Regions from separate parts of the Homo sapiens genome. Here regions 2, 3, 4 and 5 are each linked to region 1. The links are contacts of gene promoters, found by promoter capture Hi-C in blood cells and fetal thymus (Javierre and others, 2016). All regions are on one chromosome and are shown on one strand. Each heading gives the region's core, a stretch centred on a gene start or on the middle of the fragment in contact. The rest is flanking DNA. Distances are from core to core; before and after follow the strand shown. Region 1 holds the start of LEP (leptin). Region 2 overlaps SND1 (staphylococcal nuclease and tudor domain containing 1). Region 3 overlaps SND1 (staphylococcal nuclease and tudor domain containing 1). Region 4 overlaps SND1 (staphylococcal nuclease and tudor domain containing 1). Region 5 overlaps SND1 (staphylococcal nuclease and tudor domain containing 1).

Evidence for each region. The method cuts DNA at HindIII sites, captures the fragments that hold promoters and counts their contacts. A CHiCAGO score of 5 or more calls a contact.
Region 2: a fragment that was not itself captured here is called in contact with the fragment with the promoter of LEP in region 1 in 8 of 17 cell types (naive B cells, naive CD4 T cells, total CD8 T cells and 5 more); the score reaches 7.8 in naive B cells.
Region 3: a contact is called between a fragment that was not itself captured here and the fragment with the promoter of LEP in region 1, in 13 of 17 cell types (M1 macrophages, naive CD4 T cells, total B cells and 10 more). The highest score is 10.8, in M1 macrophages.
Region 4: a fragment that was not itself captured here is called in contact with the fragment with the promoter of LEP in region 1 in 2 of 17 cell types (naive CD4 T cells and M1 macrophages); the score reaches 6.7 in naive CD4 T cells.
Region 5: a contact is called between a fragment that was not itself captured here and the fragment with the promoter of LEP in region 1, in 2 of 17 cell types (M1 macrophages and monocytes). The highest score is 5.5, in M1 macrophages.

The regions. Positions count from the first base shown.
Region 1 is chr7:128,239,986-128,242,617 of GRCh38, reverse strand. It overlaps LEP (leptin), which reads right to left and starts at 1,340. Exons shown (of 3, transcript NM_000230.3): 1 at 1,312-1,340. RefSeq lists a cis regulatory region at 1,386-1,394 and promoters at 1,312-1,558, 1,312-2,632. The HindIII fragment of the contact is 7,258 bases long and covers 1-2,632 here.
Region 2 is chr7:127,729,380-127,732,011 of GRCh38, reverse strand. The region is part of intron 10 of SND1 (staphylococcal nuclease and tudor domain containing 1); the gene reads right to left. Among named protein-coding and RNA genes, the nearest start is that of SND1, 79 kb to the right of the region's middle. The HindIII fragment of the contact is 1,753 bases long and covers 461-2,213 here.
Region 3 is chr7:127,746,521-127,749,152 of GRCh38, reverse strand. The region is part of intron 10 of SND1 (staphylococcal nuclease and tudor domain containing 1); the gene reads right to left. Among named protein-coding and RNA genes, the nearest start is that of SND1, 96 kb to the right of the region's middle. The HindIII fragment of the contact is 1,579 bases long and covers 556-2,134 here.
Region 4 is chr7:127,762,987-127,765,618 of GRCh38, reverse strand. All of the region lies in intron 10 of SND1 (staphylococcal nuclease and tudor domain containing 1), which reads right to left. Among named protein-coding and RNA genes, the nearest start is that of SND1, 110 kb to the right of the region's middle. The HindIII fragment of the contact is 2,591 bases long and covers 30-2,620 here.
Region 5 is chr7:127,780,655-127,783,286 of GRCh38, reverse strand. All of the region lies in intron 10 of SND1 (staphylococcal nuclease and tudor domain containing 1), which reads right to left. Among named protein-coding and RNA genes, the nearest start is that of SND1, 130 kb to the right of the region's middle. The HindIII fragment of the contact is 4,942 bases long and covers 1-2,632 here.

The sequences.
Region 1 (2,632 bases), core at 91-2,590:
AAATGTTCCCCTCAGCCCAATGTCCACAACTGCTTGGGAAGGGAAAGAACCTAAAAGCATCCACTGTTTCTCTCTTGCCTTGTCTCCCTGCCTAAGTGAGAGAAATGATCAGTGTGGCCTTCTTGTTTCTAAGGGCATTAGAACAGGAGCACTCACGTTGCTAGAAGCCTCCATATCTGGTTCTGCAGACAATCCTAATATGAAAGAGATTGGCAAAATTCCCCAGTTCCAGCTGCCCATGGCCCACCTCAGAATCCTACAGAACAAACACAACTCCGGCTGCCAGAGGTCATTCTGCACTGCAAAGGAAGAGAGCCTGTGCTCCTGGAACGGTACCACCAAGTCTCTGCTCTTCACCCACCTCCCCAAAGATCACCCTTCCAACAGAAATTAATCACCTCTTGGAAGCTGCTATTCTGAAATGACAGCCAGGCCACTTGTCTCACTTGGACCTAACTGTATTTAAGGAGTCACTTTCCCAAAGCACCACTATCTTTAAACTATAGAAACAGGAGTGTAAAGGCGATGGCACCCACAGTGAAATCCAAACCAAGCCCAGACTGAAGGAAGGCTATAGGTGAGCCTGGTGGGCCAACAGCGCGTATTTAGCAGTCCTGGCTAGAAGTTCCCTAATAACCAGTTCTGACCCCCAGAGACACCTCATTGTATGCATTGCAAAGAAGGCAATTTGCATGGCTTTGAGGACAGATCTGGTAAGACCCTGCACAATTTCTCTGGAAGATTTTGAGTCTTCCTGACACTTGTTTCCCCCCACCTCTACTCATCCTTGCCTTCCTCCCAGGCATTGGCCTTACACAGCCCCTCTCATTCAGAGGTCAGGAACTTCCCTGGAAAATGAATCCTGAATTCCTACCCGCAGAGCAAGGCAATGTCTGGGACTGAGACTGATCACTTGCATCTGCGTCTCTCCTACCCCCAACTTTATCTCCTTCAGACTGGGGTGGGACATCCTGATCTTTGGGGATGTGCCCAAGGCAATTTCCAATGCATCTCAGCTCTGCGAATGCCACCAGGTTGGTGGGTCTGACAGTCTCCCAGGGACCTGGCTGGTTCTGCAAGGTCCTGCCTTCTGGGCACCGGCACAGCCCAGCAGCAAATCCAACGCTCCCCAGCTCCCGGTAACCTTCTATCTGGCTAGAACTCGGTACAAAGCTATCATAGTCCAGAACTAAGCCATCCGCCCTGCATCCCTCCTGACTCAGTTTCCCCGGGATCCAGAGTTGTGTGGGGCCCTGTGGCCTGCCAAGAAAGACCAGCAGAGAAGGAGGAAGGAGCGCGCCGGGGCCTTACCTTGCAACCGCTGGCGCTGCGATTCCTACGGGGCTCCATGCCTGCCCGCCCCTCTTATAGCGGCCCGATCACAACTTGCGCAACTGCCCCGCAGGCCCCGGCGCATTTCTAGCGCCAGCTCCCGCCCCGCCCCTCAGGGTAGCGACGTGCCGGGCGGCTGCTAGCCCTGGGCCCGCAGTGTGCACCTCGCGGGGCCTCGAGGGAGGGCCTCGGCGCGCCAGGAGCCACGCGCGCACCCTTGGGTACCTCCCAAAAATTTGGGGGTGGCTGGTAGGAGCGAGAAATCCTTGATGTCCCTCCAGAGGCTCCGGCGCGACTATGGCGCAAGGACCAGCCCCTTGGGAAGGTGCTTCGAGCCGCGCGGGGCGCGGTCGGGGCGGGGGTGGCTGTGAGGGGCTCCGCGGAGCGGGCTGGGGCATACGGCTGCGCCCTCGTTGGTCCTGGCGCGGCTTCGGGGTGGGAGCGAATCGGGACTCGGCCCCGACGGCCCTGGACGCCAGGGAAGCCCAGGGTTAGAGGGAGCGGCCCGCAGTGCGCCAGGCTCCCCGACCCAGATTGCGGGGTTGGGGGTTCTGAAGTCCCACCCCTTCTCTGGCACGCGGAGAATCGAGTTCCAAGCCTCAGGGCAAGTTGTCTCTGGCTGGCACCCCAGGGAGTGCACGCTCTCTGGAGGGCTCCAGGCGGGCACTGTGGCCTTTGGGGACACTCTGGACATACTGTGGGTCTCCATCCTCAACTCCGTATTTCCTACGTACAAAGTGGGGGTTGGGGGGTGGTCCCAGATGTAGCCACGTTTTTGTCATCATAGCCTGTGAGTGGTGTGGTAGGCATGTTTCACCTGTATCGTTTGTAGTTCCCCGCTTTACATGATGGGTTGGTTTGTTTTGTTTTGTTTTGTTTTGTTTTACCCTTGGGCTTCAGGGATGAGGAATCTAAGGTCCAGCGAGGTTAAATGACTTTCCTTAGAATCCACAGCTGGTAAGGAATAGCAATGGGCTAGGAACCCAGGCCTATTCTGGTCCCCACTGCGCAGAGCAGCTCCAAAAACAAACCACTCCATTGAGAACCAACCCAGCCAGGCGTGGTAGCTCAAGCCTGTAATCCCAGCACTTTGGGAGGCCAAGGTGGGTGGATCACCTGAGGTCAGGATTTCGAGACCAGCCTGGCCAACATGGTGAAACCTCATCTCTACTAAAAATACAAAATTAGCCAGGTGTGGTGGTGAGTGTCTGTAATCCCAGCTACTTGAGAGGCTGAGGCAGGAGAATGGCTTGAACCTGGGAAGTGGAGGTTGCAGTGAGCCAAGATCAGACCATTGCAC
Region 2 (2,632 bases), core at 88-2,587, 510 kb after region 1:
CTAGATAAAGAGACAAGAGAGAGACATTCAACACCATTAGCTTCTGCCCTGAGAATGCACTTCTTACTGGGTGATGGGGGTGAGAGATGAAAGGTTATAGGATTTTATCACACTGAGTTTCCAGTTTGTCAGGTTCCGTCTACGGTATCAGGTACTCTGGGACTAATTTGTATCTTTTAGGATTGAGACATATCTCTCCAGCAGAGCCCCAGTGACGGTTCTCTACCTGCTAGATTTTATGGATATCTAATAATAACAACAATGGGTCCAAAAGCTGTTATTAACTGGCTTCTCACTGGAGGAGCTTCTGTTCTCCTGAACTCTGACAGTGCTGAGGCTATGCACCTCCGGAAGAAGGGTAACTTGGCAGGCAAACAGGAGTGTCTAGGCTGAAAGAACCAGTCAGTCCTCTGAGGGAAGACTGGGAGGAGTGAGGGAAGGAAGGTAAAGCCAAAAAGCTTTAGGAGAGTGAAGAGGCAGGCAGCCACGGGGCAATCTGCGAAGGAAGGACAGAGCCTGGCTCAAGCAGCTGTGAGGAACCCTGCATGTTTTCCTGAGGAAAACGTTGAGCCGGCTACGTTGAAAGGAACAGCTAAGGGCTGGGCTAGCTTCTTTCCCCTTTATAAGAAATAGAAATAAATAAAATAAGCTGCTTTGAGCGATGTCAAGTCTCCCTCCTCTTAAAGTACAAACTGGCCTAATAATCCTGAATGTCCCAATGGCCAAAACCAGCATATGGAACTGTCTGCCAATTCTCCTGTGCAGAGCACAGTGCACTCGCTCACAGCAGCTGCGGTATGAAGTAGAGGAAAGGGGGTCCAACCAGAATCGGGCGGGCAGTGCCCCCACCCATGGCGACCATGCCTCAGGCCAGAAAGAGCCTAAGGGAGACGGGAGGCTGGAAGGGGAGCCCTGGCTACGCAGCTCCTCCCAGACCTCCACCTACCGCTTCCGCATGCCAGTCGTTCTAAAACAAGCCTCTCCAGCTGGAGAAGCAGATGCTGCTAAAGGCAGCTCCATACGAATATGAATGTGGCTTTCTCCTAATTGTGGCCCACCTTACAAAAGACAACAGCATGTGAAAAAAGTCCCGCGTTCCCAGTAGTGATGAGGAACATGTCCTAGGAAAGGCAGAGTGGTAGAATCAGAAAGCCAAGTGTCAGCATATTCTGCCCATCCCTATATCCCCAAACTATGAATAATGAGTAAAGGCCCCCAGTGAGGATGCAATGAGACACTATCTAACACCTGAGTATCAACTATGTGCTAGACATTTAGTTAGCAACAGATCTGAAGAAATGACAAATCTACATGACCCAGAAAAATCAAACTGAGTAGAGAAGGAGAAAAAAATGCAGAAAACAATGAAAAAGTATTTTACAGCAGAACTACAGGCGTCCATCATGTGGGCTATCCAGAACCAGCAGGACAGCAGAGGTAAGCAGATTCTGAGACCAATGTCTGAACACACATAAAGGGGATATTTCTGCTTATCCACACTAATTGCCCAATAAAGTGAAACAAGGATGAAGGCTATTACATCAAGTGGCTTCTAGCAGAGAAATGAAAAGGCAAGGAAGACAAAGTCTCCAGAATGTCTTCACAGCTAAACTGAATAGAGACCCTACTGTGAAACAGCAATACTCCTTGGTGGCCACCAATACACTACTAAACCAGGCAAAGGCATTTGCCAAAAACAGACGGATATCAGAGTAGATGGTGAGACTAAGAGCTGTCCAATGTCAGGCTGGGCGCGGTGGCTCACACCTGTAATCCCAGCACTTTGGGAAGCCGGGGCGGGTGGATCACCTGAGGTCGGAGTTTGAGACCAGCCTAACCAACATGGAGAAACACCATCTCTACTAAAAATACAAAATTAGCTGGATGTGGTGGCTCATGCCTGTAATCCCAGCTACTCGGGAGGCTGAGACAGGAGAATCGCTTGAAGGCAGAGGCAGAGGCAGAGGCTGTGGTGACCCGAGATCGCCACATTGCACTACAGCCTGGGCAACAAGAGCGAGACTTCGTCTCAAATAAATAAATAAATAAAGAGCTGTCCAATGTGAACAGCCCATAAATTGACCGTAGATTTTCAGAGGAAGGCTAAAATGAAAAGTGACATCAAAAATATGCCTAAGCAATTGGCCTGTCATCTGGTAGGGAAATCATTTGTGTCCTTCAGCTTCCCATTCCAGTCTCGGTTATGAAAAGCTTTTTTCTAGAACAGTGACAGAAATGATGCTGCTTCATCCATAATCCATCATCCAGTCTAAAGTCTACCTGGTGACCGACCACAACACACACACATACTTGTCAGGATTAGAGATATGGATCCTAAAATTATAAACACCTTATTCATAAAAATAATTTCCCAGACCTACAGTGCCTAAAGTACACAAGGAACTTAAATGTTTGGTTTCTGAATTGCACAAAATTTTCCCAGTACAAAGCTAATTAGCCCACCAAGGAATGAAACCTACAGCCCAGCCTGCAAAAATGCGAAGCACTGGATGACTGCACTAAACTTGCCTTGAATATAAATGTTATGTAAAAAAAAAAAAAAAAAAAAAAAGTAATTTATCTAAACACAGTGTAGGTAGCTCTGCAATCAGTATCTCATAAATAAAAGAGA
Region 3 (2,632 bases), core at 96-2,595, 490 kb after region 1:
CTGACGCAGAAAGATCACCTGGGCCTGGGAGTTCAAGGCTGCAGTGAGCCATGATTGCACTACCTGGGTGACAGAGTGAGACCCTGTCTCAAAAAAAAAAAAAAAAAAACGAAAGAAAAAAATACATTAACATATCCATGTCTGCATATCCCCCTCCTACACAGATAATTCTGACTTCATGGGGGGTGCACAGCAGGAATCTGTTTTGTTACTGTTGCTATTTCTTGGTTTTGGGTGTTGTTTCTTTAAAGCTTCTCTGTGAGTCTATACTCAAGGTTTGGAGGCTACTAGTCCAAAAAAACTGTTTACTTCCAGCACCCACATAGGCCTGCACCTTCCATTCAGCTACCCTTCAAGACCTGCTTGAATGTCATTTCTTCTACTAAACCACCCTGTTCCACCCCATCCTGAAACACTTTCTCCTGCCTCTTAACAATTACAGCAGTTTCTAACAGACCAATTCATGTAGTTTTGTTCACTTTCTACTGAAGTAGGAATATGATTTCTAATGCGTATTTTCTTCTTACTTTTAAAAACATTTTGTGTGTTTAAGCTTATTGCTCAGTTAGGTTATAAATTCCTTTAGGGGAAGAAGAAATATTTCATCTCTTTCCTACTCTCACCAGATACTTAGTCCAATTCTCACTCATACTATTAGGGTATCTTGATTTTAAAATTACATCAGATTAATGATGCAATTCCGATCCAGACAATCAGACTTCATGACTACCAATTCAGACACACAACTACCAGCATACACCTGATTAATCTGATTCCGATCCAGAACCCAAAGGGGGATGAGCGTGTTCTGAAAGGACAGTACCTTGTACACAAGCATCCTAGGAAAAAGTGAAAGACCCAGTCTGGGTAAGCATACTATGGTATCACCGTTTGTGTGGAATCAAAAGGCAGGAAACAAGCTGTCAAGAGGAAGATACAGGAGACAAGGCCAGGCAAGCAAAACAAAGAATCACAGGCACAGTGGAGACAACATGGAATGATTCCCGTGAGTGTTAGATTCTCACTTCAATATCCTATTTTCATGCAAGTTTGTGTTTCCACTGGGCCAGAAACAAGGTGAACACTGACTTGGCCAGTTGGTAACCAAACATAAAAGAAAGACAGAAACAAACCAAGATGTTCTTGATCCAAAGCAATAACACATACATGGAGTAAAAGGGGTGGGAAGGGGGAACATTGACTACATTTGAGCCATCATCATACACAAACATACTAATCCTACAAGGATCAAGAAACCCTGTTCTCCCTTGTTGTCTTCTATAGTCTGTCCCTACACTAGACAAATAAAAAGCAAAGGAGGGAGAGAAAACCCAAGTAAGTGACAATACGACATGGTGACATTGACAATGGAAAGGCAAAAGTCACCTTTAGCTAAAGCACTGCTAAAAATTATTATAGTGGCATGTCCTGAAAAATTAATTCTTTAAGAAAATACCATGCTGTGGGCCTATACATGCAAGAGTCATTTCCTTAAAGCACTGATGTTCAGTCTTGTCAAATATGTCACAACCAGGTGCTGATAACTCCTGTCAGTAGAAAAAAACAATTTTTTCTAAAGGATCTTCCAGGCTGGACATGAAGTTTTTGGATTATCTGACTCCAATTTTCCTTCAAGACTGTAGCTAGAAAAATCATTCTTATCCAGAGAACTCATCCTCACAGAAAGGTCCTTCAATACCCAATGCCAATTCCTTGCAATACCATCTGAACCTTGAATAAAAACAATATAAAGCAGAAGCAGAAAGTACTTCAAGTCCATGATTCCTCAGAGAGACAAGGGCAGGAATTGCATAGGCAATCCCACACTCAACAGAGTCCTTTCCACAGCCACATGTGCTATTTATATCCAAACCATAGGATCCAGGGCCTTTGACAATTCATTTAATGATAGGGCACACCAGCGTCTCTATAATTTTCAAAGGAACAGAGATGTTTGTCACTTTGAAGAACTTGGTCGACCTGGAAAGTAGCCCTGCAAATCACATTTTTCCTTCATTTCTACATACAAATTCTAACTCTTCCACCCAAGCAACAACCTCCCTATACACAAGCAAAACATCTCATGCATGCTGAATGCAAAGGCATTTATTCTCAATTATCCCCAATGTAAGCTTTTTAAAAAATTAATAACAATAACAACAACGAGAAAACCAAAATGTGCTAGTAAAAAACACCTTGCCTCCAAGTTATACTGAATACAAACATTACTAGCATATGCTGACTACTTAAATGGCTAAGACTGAATGCTAGCAGCCTTACTTAGTCATATCTGCAGCTCACTACCATATGCTCAAAGTGGCCAGTCAGTGCTATGGACTGAAGGGGACCAGAGACTAGGCATCACATAAGCCAGGTATAAATAGGTATTTATACCTACAAAGGCCAGACATCAGTTTTCTAGCCTAAGACACCACCATACTCAAAAGATGAATGTTCATAGGAAGAAGGAATTAGTAAGAAAAGGCCGCCCACATAAAGCCAATCAAAATATCTCCCAATGAAATAAGGCACAGAAAATTGGAAAAGAGGGACATTTTCACCATACCAGCAGGATGCCTGTGGCGTTTCCATTCTTCCTTTCCTTCTCTAATGCCCTCCTCTGATGAGTCTG
Region 4 (2,632 bases), core at 76-2,575, 480 kb after region 1:
CGAAATATTTAATTGAAGGATTTAAAGCTTGGTCCTTACTTCAGTACTCTCAGCACTTACAAGAGATTGAGAAAAATGGACAGACAGATGTTGTTAGTATCAAGTTTTACCAATTACTAAGGGCCTAATGTTGCCACACGATTCTGTGATATTTTACTATTCTCACTGTGCACAGAGCTTAAGGGGCTTCCTCAAACACAAAGAAGATGTCTGAGTGAGACATATGTCTGAGTGAGACGTGCCAATCACAAATACTTGCATGAGGATCTGTATTCTAACATATCACCACAAATAGTCAAAACCAGCCAGGTTCATTTTTTTTAAATGCAAATCAGAAATGCTCAATGGTTGACTGTTAAATGAAAATCTGCAAGATTCTGGGCAATTCCTCGACCTCTGAGCTCACTGAGGGTAAACATCACAAAAAGTCTCTTGTTGCTACTTTTCTAATAAAGACCACTACAGAGTCCAGTGGCATCATGGTGTGTTCCTAGATGTCATTTGTAGTCAAAATTGAAAATAATCACCTAACTGATTCTGATGGTCTTCTCATAAATTCCTCTTTAGTCTCCCAAAGAGAATGTTACCAACTCGTTGCAAAAATCAGGCTTTAATCTCCTCCCATTCATCAACAGCGACACCAACCCCCATCTCTATTCAAGGGGGAAACCATCTGCAATAGTTCCGCCCGATTTCCCCTGAAATTTTAGCTTCCACTGCCTGGTTTCTGAACCCTCAGCAATGGGAGCAATTTACCTCGATCGACTTCACCAGTCACTGTTGCAATTTAGCTAAGACATTTCCCAGGGGCCCATTAGAAAAGGTTCCAATTTGAAAAACTCACATCTGATCCTTCAAACCAGTCCTGGAAACATTATTTGGTACCAAGTTAGACATTATTCTTTTTCAGATTCCAAATCCTTTACTTTGACACAGAAATGCAAATGGGAAATTTAAAAAGACAGCATTTCTGAAAATCAGCTCAACGAAAACTCAAATACACAAACATTAAAAGATATTCTGATAATAAGCACAGCCTGCCACATCGGTGTCAAAGTTCTGATTTGGTTTGGTTTTGTTACTCTACTCTATGCAGGCAAACTAAAGATGGCAGCCTAGGGCAGAGGAAGCCTTCAGCAGCATCTGCAATACAGCAACACCACAAACTTAATGAGCATGGAGTTCCTTCCAGAGTTAAGGACCATGAAAAGCCAAATTGCACTATTAAAATACTTCGCATTCACACACACACTGTACCTACTCAGTGGAGCTAACCAAAAGAGATGTGGAAGTGGAAGTACACATAATGTGTGGGAATGGCCACAGGGTAGGTGATAGCTCCTATGGCAAAAGAAACAAAAAGTGTTTTTTATTATCAATAAGTAAAAAGTCAATGGCAACCTTCAGTTTGCTCTTATGAAATCGCTAATATTCAGTTTAGAATTACATACTATCCCATAAAAAATTGTATCATTATTTGAAATTAATAGGAATCAGCAATGTATGTCAGTAGGTTTCAATTTATGCTTTTCTTTCTCTTGGGTTTTTTGTTTTTTTGTTTTTTTGTTTTTTTTTTTTTTGCGACAGGGTCTTGCTCTGTCACCCCAGCTGGAGTGCAGTGGCTCAGTCATAGCTCACTGCAACCACCTCAGCCTCCAAAGTAGCTGGGACTGCAAGCATGCACCATCACATCCAGCTGATTTGTTTTAATCTTGAGTAGAGACAGTGTCTCACTATGCTGAGGCAATCCTCCTCCCTCAGTCTCCCCAAATACTGAGATTACAGGCATTAGCCACCATGTCTGCCTGGCCCTACGCTTTTCTAGAATACTAGTGCTTCTGAAACATAATGCAGAAAAAGTATCCTCATAACTACTTAAAATAAGAATGATACCAAAAACTAAGTTAGTAAATAGAATAGTCCTGGGTTTTTTTGTCCGTAAGTTTTTCCTTAAAAAAAAGATCACCTGCTGTCAATTATCAATAAATCAATTTAACAAGTATCATATTATTATTAATAGAAATAAATGGAAACAAAAATCATGCTCAGTTTGAGACCAGCCTAGGCAACAAAGTGAGACCCTATCTCTTCAAAAAATAAAAAAATTAGCTGGGCATGGTAGTGTGCACCCGTAGTCCTAACTACTTGAAAGGCTGAGGCAGGAGTATCTCTTGAGCCCAGAACATCAAGGCTGCAATGAGCTGTGATTTTGCCACTGCACTCCAGCCTGGGCAACAGAGCAAGACTCTGTCTCAAAAAAAATTAATTTGACTGAATGTATATATATGATGTGCACATATGCTTGATTTTATGAGACAGGTCTCACTATGTTACTCAGACTGGTCTCGAATTTCTGAGTGCAAAGAACTCGAGTAGCTAGGACTACAAGTGTGCACCAACATGTCCAGCCTCACATGCTTGATTTTAAGTAACATTTATATATATTTTATACCAGAATTATTCCAGATTAGAATGACAGCATTACATATTTCTATGTGACATGAGTTCTAGGAGTTTTGTCACCTGAATGTGCTCACTATTCCCCTATTTCTGGCTATTTAGACTGTTTCTACCTTTTCTGAGAGGCCAGGTTACAGTAAACATCTTTAGGCACAAAGCTTGGCTCTTCCTT
Region 5 (2,632 bases), core at 53-2,552, 460 kb after region 1:
TGAGGTAGATAGAATAAGAGCCACTGAAGAGTTTAGGTAACAGCTGTCAGATTTCACTTCTGTAATAGCAGGCACATCTGGTTCAACGTCTGTTGAACAGTAACCATGGCTCTACATACCCAAATGAAAAGGGGTGCCACACTAGAAGGTGACTCATGCAATCCTCAGAAGGCATGTGATAACTAACTACCCTTTAAAGGAAATATATCCAGAATTGATATCTGTCCCCAATTTCCAATGTGCAGAATCTTACCATGAGTCCCCATTCTCCTGCAGCATGTTTGCTGAATTAAAGAGGAAATCACTGCCACATACATTACTACACTAGGTGTTGCAATAGGTCTACTTCCTATTTAGGAAAATGGGGAGGAAGATAATGCTTCACTTGCTGGGCAGTTGTAGTCTTCAGCATTTCTATAACGAATACACATACAGCAGTTGAAAAACTCAGTCCAGGCCACTGGAAAAGGTCAGTGGTGAAGCAGACAACCCTCACTCTCCCTGCCCCCACTACAGCTACTCATGATGGCCAGAAGCTCCAGTGTGCCCAACCCACAATCACACACAGAGGTCTACAGCCCTGCTTTGCAGAGGGAGGAGCCAAGTGTTCCAAGTAAGGTTTGGTTACTTTCTTTAACTTCCATACAACTTTAAAGACCTAAAAGGCTGACTGCATCATGACTCTCTTGCCAAATTAAAAATCATTATTCTGTAGAATAGCCAATTAAATTCTACTTTCAGCGAACTAACAACACATCTCTGCCCCCCAAAGGATTGTAACCTATGACAGAATGAGGCTTAAATAGAAAAATAAGCTCCCCAGGCTGTTTAATGATGCCTTAACATGAAAAGAAATACATTCCTCATCTGAAGACCAGTTATCTTATCAGAGTCCCTGGCAAAAGGCAGTGCAGGCCAATGTGAGAATGCAGGACCCCAGGACTGCTTTTCAAACTCATGCACATATATCACAGAAACCACTATTGTGATTAGGATCCTATTAAATTAACTTCCCTTTTCTGCCTGGAAAACAACCAGACCTCAACTGTGATCATCCTCAACAACCACAAAGGAGGTCAGTGTGTTTAGATTAATCTCCCCTGCTTGGGAGAGACAATCAAGAAACAATAGGAAGTCAGACAGGTAAATAAGGCACTGGACTAAGAATAGTTACTGAGGATCCAGCCAGGCAGGGCATGAAACTATTCTCTGCCTCCTCAAAGATATGCAACCTAACTAGGATCAGATATTACAGCTTGATCATCAAGAAACTGGTCACCACTCAGATTAATTGTATATAACCCAAGCGAAAATTTTATGGGATGTTGTCTTAAGTGAAAAAGGGGAATCTGGACTAAGTACTGCAAATAATTATACCAAAGTTCAGTATCTTGGGCTTCCCCTCTATGAAACGATTACTGGGAATAATCCAGGTAATTATTCTCATGTATTCTATGAGATTACAAATCTGAACATGCTTTGGAACATTTTCATTATTACTGAATTGACATTTCATTATGATTGCTTTTACTTTAATTATTAATAACAGAAGGAAAAGCTCTATCAAATATATAAGCATCTGGCTAATTTGCTCTAAGGTTAGCAAAAAGATATTCCTTGGCTAAAAGGAAGGACTTATAAATCAAACCATGAAACAAGGTTCAGAACCGGATTTCTATTCCAAGTGGAAAAAAAAAAATCAAATGAACAAAAAAGTTTCTTCTTCCTTTCTTAACTCCTATGGAGCCAAAGCACTGCTATTGTCTCTGCCCCAGCAACTTGGCATAACTGGGAGGAGTTACAATTATAAAGAAAAGTCAATATCACAAGGCAATAAAATCAGTTTTCCATTTTTCTCGATGAATTCTGTGTTCAATTATATATATTAGTATAATGAAGGGGGGGCGGGGAGGAACGATGATTGCCACATAGTGAAGGCAGCTTCAACAAGAACCAGCTAAGTCACTTGCAAGCCATGTGTGGAAATACTAATAATAACGTATTACTTCTATGGTGAACTAATTGGTCTCTTCATTTTTATAAGGTCATAGGATCACAGGGTCTGTGGGTTGGATGAGAACTTCAAAGTCTTTTAAGTTCAGCTTCCCATGTACTGTAAAATCTTCTCCATGTTCCTACCTTCTCCTGAAGCAGCTCACTCTCTTCTACCAGACACTTTTCTTAGAAAGTTATTTTCTTCACATTGAGCAGAAATATGTTCCCATATATCTGATCCTACTTTTATTCTTTGATGTCCCGCAGAACAAACCTAGTCATCTTTCTCACTGACTAGGCAATATTACAGTGTCTCTGCAATGCAGCCTAACAAAGAGGTCATAAAACTTGAGTTTTCCGTAGCTCAGAAGAATTCTAAATGCTGCCAAAATCATAAAGAATTCACTTTTCAGCCATAGGACACCTTAGGCAACTAAATCCCCAGTGCACTGTGAAACTCATTCTTTAGGAGATAGACTGCCTGGTGCTCTAAATGACCAAATAGGATAAAAAGGGATCTAAAATAAAAAATTTCTTCTTCTCATTGTCTAATTTGCCTGTTAAGGCACTGAAGCAATTCTAGCAAAAGAGAAAAGAACAATGGCGTCATTATGATTAGTGAGCAAAACCCTAAACA